Regions from separate parts of the Homo sapiens genome. Here region 1 is linked to region 2. Evidence: promoter capture Hi-C in human tissues and cell types (Jung and others, 2019). All regions are on one chromosome and are shown on one strand. The core of a region is centred on a gene start or on the middle of the fragment in contact, and the rest is flanking DNA. Distances in the headings are between cores, read along the strand shown.

Region 1 (3,160 bases), core at 387-2,886, 150 kb after region 2:
TGATTTTTGACCATTTAATTATAATGTCTTGATGTAGCCTTGTTTGTATTGAATCCGAATGCAGATATGTGACCCTCTTGTACCTGGATATTTATGTTTTTCTTAGTATTTGGAAAATCTTCTGCTTTTATTTCTTTAAGCTTTCCAACAATTTGTTTTTTCTTCTTCCTCACAAACTCTAATAATGTAAACACTGGCTCTTTTGATGCTGTTCTATAAATCCCATGAGCTTTCTTCATTCCTCTTAATTTTTCTTTTAATCATCTAACTGTATATTTTCAAAAAACCTATTTTGAGTTGAGATATTTTTCTCTGCTTGATAAACTCTGCTGTTAATGCTTTCTACTGCATTATTCATTTTATTCACTGTATATTACATATCCATGATTTCTGTTTGATTTTTTAAAAAGTAATTTCAATTTCTCTATTAAGTTACTAGTCTGGGTCATTTATTGTTTACCCGATTTTGTTGAATTGTTTTTCTGTGTTATCTTGAAGTGTGCAGAGCTTTTTGTTTTCGTTTTTGTTTTTAAGATGGAGTCTCACTCTGTTGCCCAGGCTGGAGTCCAGTGGCACGATCTCGGCTCACCGCAACATCCACCTTCTGGGTTCAAGCGATTCTCCTGCCTCAGTCTCCCAAGTAGCTGGGATTACAGGCACCCACCACCATGCCCGGCTAATTTTTGTATTTTTGGTAGAGATGGGGTTTCACAATATTGGCCAGGCTGGTCTCAAACTCCCGACCTCGTGATCCACCTGCCTTGGCCTCCCAAAGTGCTGGGATTACAGACGTGAGCCACTGTGCCCAGCCTATAGAGCTTTCCTAAAGTGATTTATTGATCACATCAAATAGAACTCTTGACACAATAAGTCCTCAAAAATATTTGCCACATGAATGCATAAATGAATATTCAACTTCTTAATGGACATATCCATCTACATGTGTCAAGGGCACACCATAAACACTATGACCAACACCGAGGTGATAATTTTTCTACACAGCTCGTTCTCCACATATGCTTGACCATCCATTTCGTATCTATTTTCTGATTTTCTTCTCTTTTTGCTTTTTTGAGACAGAGTCTCTCTCTGTCACCCAGGCTAAAGTGCAATGGCATGACCTCTGTTCACTGGAACCTCCGCCTCCCCGGTTCAAGCAATTCTCCTGCCTCAGCCTCCTGAGTAACTGAGACCACAGGTGTGTGCTACCATGTACAGCTAATTTTTGTATTTTTAATGGATATGGGGATTCATCATGTTGGCCAGGCTGGTCTCAAACTCCTGACCTCAGGTGATCCGCCCACCTCAGCCTCCCAAAGTGCTGGGATTACAAGCATGAGCCACTGTGCCCGGCCCTGATTTTCATTCTTACTGTGTAATCAATTTTGCTATTTTCCATTGCCTAGGAGACAAATTTTCAACCCCTTAGCCTAACACACAACGGGAACTTCTGCGGTATTTTGCTCAGCCTAACAAAGTGGAAACTAAGATGAAAAACCAGAATTATTAAAAGCCTTGCCATTGCCCATGCTTTAGGTTAAGGAAAGAGAGATAAGAGATCGAAATGCATGCTCTCTCTTGTACTGTTCCATGTAGGCGGAGAGGTGCTTACTGAATTTAGCATGAAGAAACGGCACTCAGAAACCAAACTACTCTTGAAAGGAGAGAAATACCAGTTCTTATTTGCATTTCAATACCATATCCTAGCTGAGACAGCAAAAGCATAAAGTTGCATGAGCAGTGTGAAGGAAAAAACCTTAAAATTTGGCATGAATAATCTGTAAAAATAATTGAGAATTATGCTAAAATAGGACTTTAGATATATAATTTATTTTTAGTTTTTATTTATTATCATTAATTTTTTTAGAGATGGGGTCTTGCCAGGCTGGAGTGCAATGGCACAATCATAGCTCATTGCAGCCTTAAACCCTGGGGCTCAAGCAATTCTCTGGCCTCAGCCTTCCAAGTTGCTGGAATTACAGGCATGAGCTACTGCGCCCAACTAATTTATATGGACAGCACAAACATAAAAGTGCCTTGTTAGGTGATGTAAGAGTTTGTGAGGACTTCTGCTTTTTGTGAAACTTAGCATAATCTGGCATAAGAGACTATAATATCAAACATTGCCAAAGGAACATTATAGAAAATCAATACCTATCAATAACTCACAGAAAACTGGTATTGAAGACATAAATCATATGGATGGTGAGAACAACAAATATGATTTAACACATTTCTCAAACTCCTGAGCTCAAATGACCTGCCCACCTCAGCCTCCCAAAAGTGCTGGGATTACAGGCGTGAACCAGTGCGCCCGGCCAATTTAATACATTTCTGACAAAGGTAGCACAACTTAATTTACCTGGAAATGTTGTTGCAACATAACATTTAAAATCCTCTAATTTATCTTCAGTCTTGACCTTGACCTTCAGGATGTAAATGTTGCCAAACTTGCTCTTGAGATGCTGAGGGCTGCCCAAGCAAGTGAACTTCCCTTGCACCATGATGGCTAGACTGGTACAGAGGGCGTCACATTCCTCCATACTTGGAAAACAAAAGGGCAGAATGTTGTAAGGGTAAAAATAAAAAGTTCTCTTTTGGAAGACATTGTGTAGTTCAATCAGAGCCAGAATTTTGTGACCCTATTTTCAATCAGAATTTGTATTTTTCCAATCATAAAGCACATAGATGGGAAGTGGGAATTTTTCAAACGAAAAAGAACACAGCGCTCAATTTTCAAATAGAACATCTTCTGAAGTCCTGTCTTTTCCTCACTTTTTTTTTAAACTCAGTGAGGATTTTTGGCCATTTGATTTATTAGGATTAACATGAATCCTAATTCCTGATGAGGAGCTAACATACTCAGGCAAGTTTAGTGTCCAATATTATCCACTGGGCCTAAATAATTCCTTCTTATAGCCACTAAAACTCTTGCTAGCCTTCAACCAAGCCTCCCAATGAGCCATACCTGTGGGAGGTCATAACGATGGCTTTTCCACTTTCACGTGTCTTTGTCACCATGTTCCAGAGCAGGCGTCTGGCTACTGGGTCCATGCCAGTTGATGGCTCATCCAGGAAGATGACTGAAGACCTTCCCATTAGGGCAATAGCAGTACTCAGCCTACGTTTGTTTCCTTCACTTCATGGCCAAAGAAGGAGA
Region 2 (3,097 bases), core at 21-2,520:
CCTGGGTGTTGGAGTGAGACTCTGTCTCAAACAAACGAACAAACAAAAAAGTGCTGAACCTTTGGTTTCTTCATCTTTAGAATGGAATGGGGATAACAGTAACTGACCTGCCTACTTCAATGCTGTTATCAAGAGGATCAAATGAAATTGAGAAAGTAGAACTGCTTTGTGAAATATGAAGTACTATACAAATGTAGAATACCATAAAATATGGGCTGCATCTTCAAGCACTTCAGCATATGACACAAAAACAATCATGTGTTTCATGAACATTTATAGAGCACTCACTGCGTGCCAGAGAGAACGGGTGCTGGGGAGATAGACATGAACAGGACGCAGCCCTTTCCCTCAGGCCTTTGCTCAAATGAAATCTTATTAGAGAGGTCTTCTGTGAGTACCTTAACTCAAACAGCACCTCCTCCACCTGGCTTTGTCTTTCCCCACAGCATGTTTCACTATATATATTCACTTATTTACTTAACAGTAAATACATTCTATATATTTGCTTATCTACTTGTTTTAAATTTTCTATATATTTAGTTATTTACTGTCTGAACCCCCGCGCACCCCTCCTACATAAACATACTAGAAGTAGATCCATTTGGGCCGGGACTTAGTAATGTTCACAGCTAGGACATTTTTGCATAAAATAGAGTTTAGAACACAGTAGCTGCTCAAAAAACATTTGTTGAATAAATGCACTCAGAGCAGGTCCAGAGTTTAGGCAAAGGTGAGCTGAATTACCCTGGGAGGTGATTGCAGGAGAGGAAAAGAACAACCAGGCCATGGCAGATGGCATTTTGGTCCAAGGGAGAGAGGGAACCTTGATTATTGGGTGAAAATAATAATAATAATAATAGGAGTCTTTCCTGAATCCCATTTGCTGTCCCCAGGGAGGAAACCACTCCTCCTGTGGAAGTCCTCCTGTCGCTGCCCCTTCACTTGGTCATATGGAGTTGTCATGGCCTGTCTCCTAGACCGGCTCCATGACTTCCTTGTCTACTGGCACCCCAGCATTTAGCCCAATGCTCGGCATGTAGGGAGTGGACACTTCACACCCCAAGCTCCCTCGATCTTCTCACTCAGTCCAGAGCTTAGTATCTGGCCTCCCCGACACCCTCTCACCACCCCTGTCAACCCTTGTGATGCTCACCCTCACCTGTATTTCTTCATTTATTTCTCCATCTTTGGGAGAAGGGCTCCTGGCACTCCAGGGCCTTACTTCTCCTGGATCTCACTTCTGGTTTCTCCAAGCTCCTCCAAGCAACTCAGCAGCGAAGCTTGCCCTGCGGGAATGTGTTAGCTGGTCTCCAAGGTAACAGACTGCACCACTGCAGCTCGGGGCAGGGAAAGGGAAAACCTTCCTCACCCCAGGGAAGAAGTCACCAGCTGTGTTGTTGATAACCACTTCTCCCAGGTCACTCTGCTTTTCTCCACCTCACAAAAACCTGGAAGCAGGATTTAGACCTCTTTTCTAATTTCAGAACCTCTCAGTCAGCACAGAACTATGGTTTAGGCCAGTACAGCCCTGGTGCGTGCCTGTGGCCTTCCTGTGGTAGGAACAGAGGAGAGGTTCCAGAGAACTCTGCCACATGTGTCAAAGGTGGTAACTTTCTCTTCCTTCTCAGATTCCCTTGGGTTCCCTGAACACAGTCCCTGGGAGAGGTCAGACAGTCCCCTATCCCTACCCGGTCCAGCCCCACCTAAACCTGGCTAACACAGCCAAGCTCAGTGACCTCTTCGCATCAGAAGAGATCATCTGCCACAGTGGTTCCTAAGCCCGGATGCCCATGAGAATCACCTGGATTGTTTGCTAGGAAAACATTCCCATTCAGGAGATTGATTCAGAACTGTGAAAAGGTGTGGGAATGTGACTTTTTAACAATGGCCCCAGGTGATTATGATGTAACTAGTCCTTGGCCCATAGCTGGGAATCTCTCCAAACCCTTCTTTTATAGTGGTCAAGAGAGACAAAGTGATGTCACCAAAGTCAACCAACTTGTAAGTCGCTAAAGGATCTGTACTTAGTTTTTCATATCCAGGTCATTTCTCAAATCAGTTTTCACTTTCTGAGAATTTTATAAGTTTTATAAACTTGTAAGTTTTATCAGTTAGAACATGAGGTTGGGTGGTGGCTCATGTCTGTAATCCCAGCACTTTGGGAGGCTGAGGCGGGAGGACTGCTTGAGGCCAGGAATTTGAGATCAGCTTGGGCAACACAGTGAGACTCTGTCTCTACAAAAATAAAATAAAATAAAAATTAGTCAGGTACAGTGGCTTGTGCTTGTAGTCCCAGCTACTTGGAAGGCTGAGGTGGGAGGATCGCTTGAGCCCAAGAGTTCAAGGCTACAGCGAGCTATGATCGCACCACTGCACTCCAGCCTGGGCTACAGAGCAAGACCCTGTCTCAAAAATAAAGAACATATGCCACTTGTGGTAGTCATCATATGGTAGGGAACACCCTTCAGATGTTGACCCCAGCAGCCATGCCTATAGGCCAGGTCAGAAACAACCAACGTGCTCAAAATAGAAACTCCTTATCAACCACTGGTCACTGGGGTTGAGAGCACCATGTATAAGACCACAGCATTTGTTATGTGGCCAGCACCAATAAGGCAGAAAATGAGGAAGATCAGAAAGAGGTAAGAAGGTCATAAGTGGCTGTGAGCAACCAATGGCTACTCGGTGAACAAGAGATGAGGGTCCTTGTGCCCATCTTGATGGAAATTTTGGGTGGAAGGGGCTGGCTAATTTTGACAACATTTTTTTTTTTTTAGGCACGGGAGCCCCAAGCAGGTCGTCTACCACCCTCACACCTTTCTTTGCTTCCTGCATACATGGGTTTTCAACACTGTGCATAGAAGTAAAGTCCAACACTGGAAACTCTTTGTTCCTGCTTTCTTGTACTTGAGCCTACACAACACACATTCTCAATAGATCTCTGCCAGGTGGATAAAGCAGAGTAAGGCTTTCAGACTGTATGACTCATCAAGAGGAAAGCTGTGTGGGTACCATCTTTCTTGGCTCCCTTCGGGATGCAGATCATGATGGCATCCATGGAAAGCATCAGAGCACAACAGACATTTCTCCTACCTTA

The links. Contacts are between HindIII fragments. The study calls those that stand out against the background at their distance.
Region 1: a contact is called between a fragment that was not itself captured here and the fragment with the promoter of VWA3A in region 2, in 2 of the 25 tissues and cell types used here (H1 embryonic stem cells and dorsolateral prefrontal cortex).

The regions. Positions count from the first base shown.
Region 1 is chr16:21,939,661-21,942,820 of GRCh38, reverse strand. It overlaps the pseudogene ABCA3P1. Among named protein-coding and RNA genes, the nearest start is that of UQCRC2, 12 kb to the left of the region's middle. The HindIII fragment of the contact is 6,103 bases long and covers 1-3,160 here.
Region 2 is chr16:22,090,714-22,093,810 of GRCh38, reverse strand. VWA3A (von Willebrand factor A domain containing 3A) reads right to left here and starts at 1,270. Exons shown (of 34, transcript NM_173615.5): 1 at 1,160-1,270. The coding sequence starts at 1,173. LOC105371129 (a long non-coding RNA gene) reads left to right here and starts at 1,580. Exons shown (of 4, transcript NR_188624.1): 1 at 1,580-1,603. It also overlaps a transcript of MOSMO not described here. The HindIII fragment of the contact is 3,787 bases long and covers 1-2,340 here.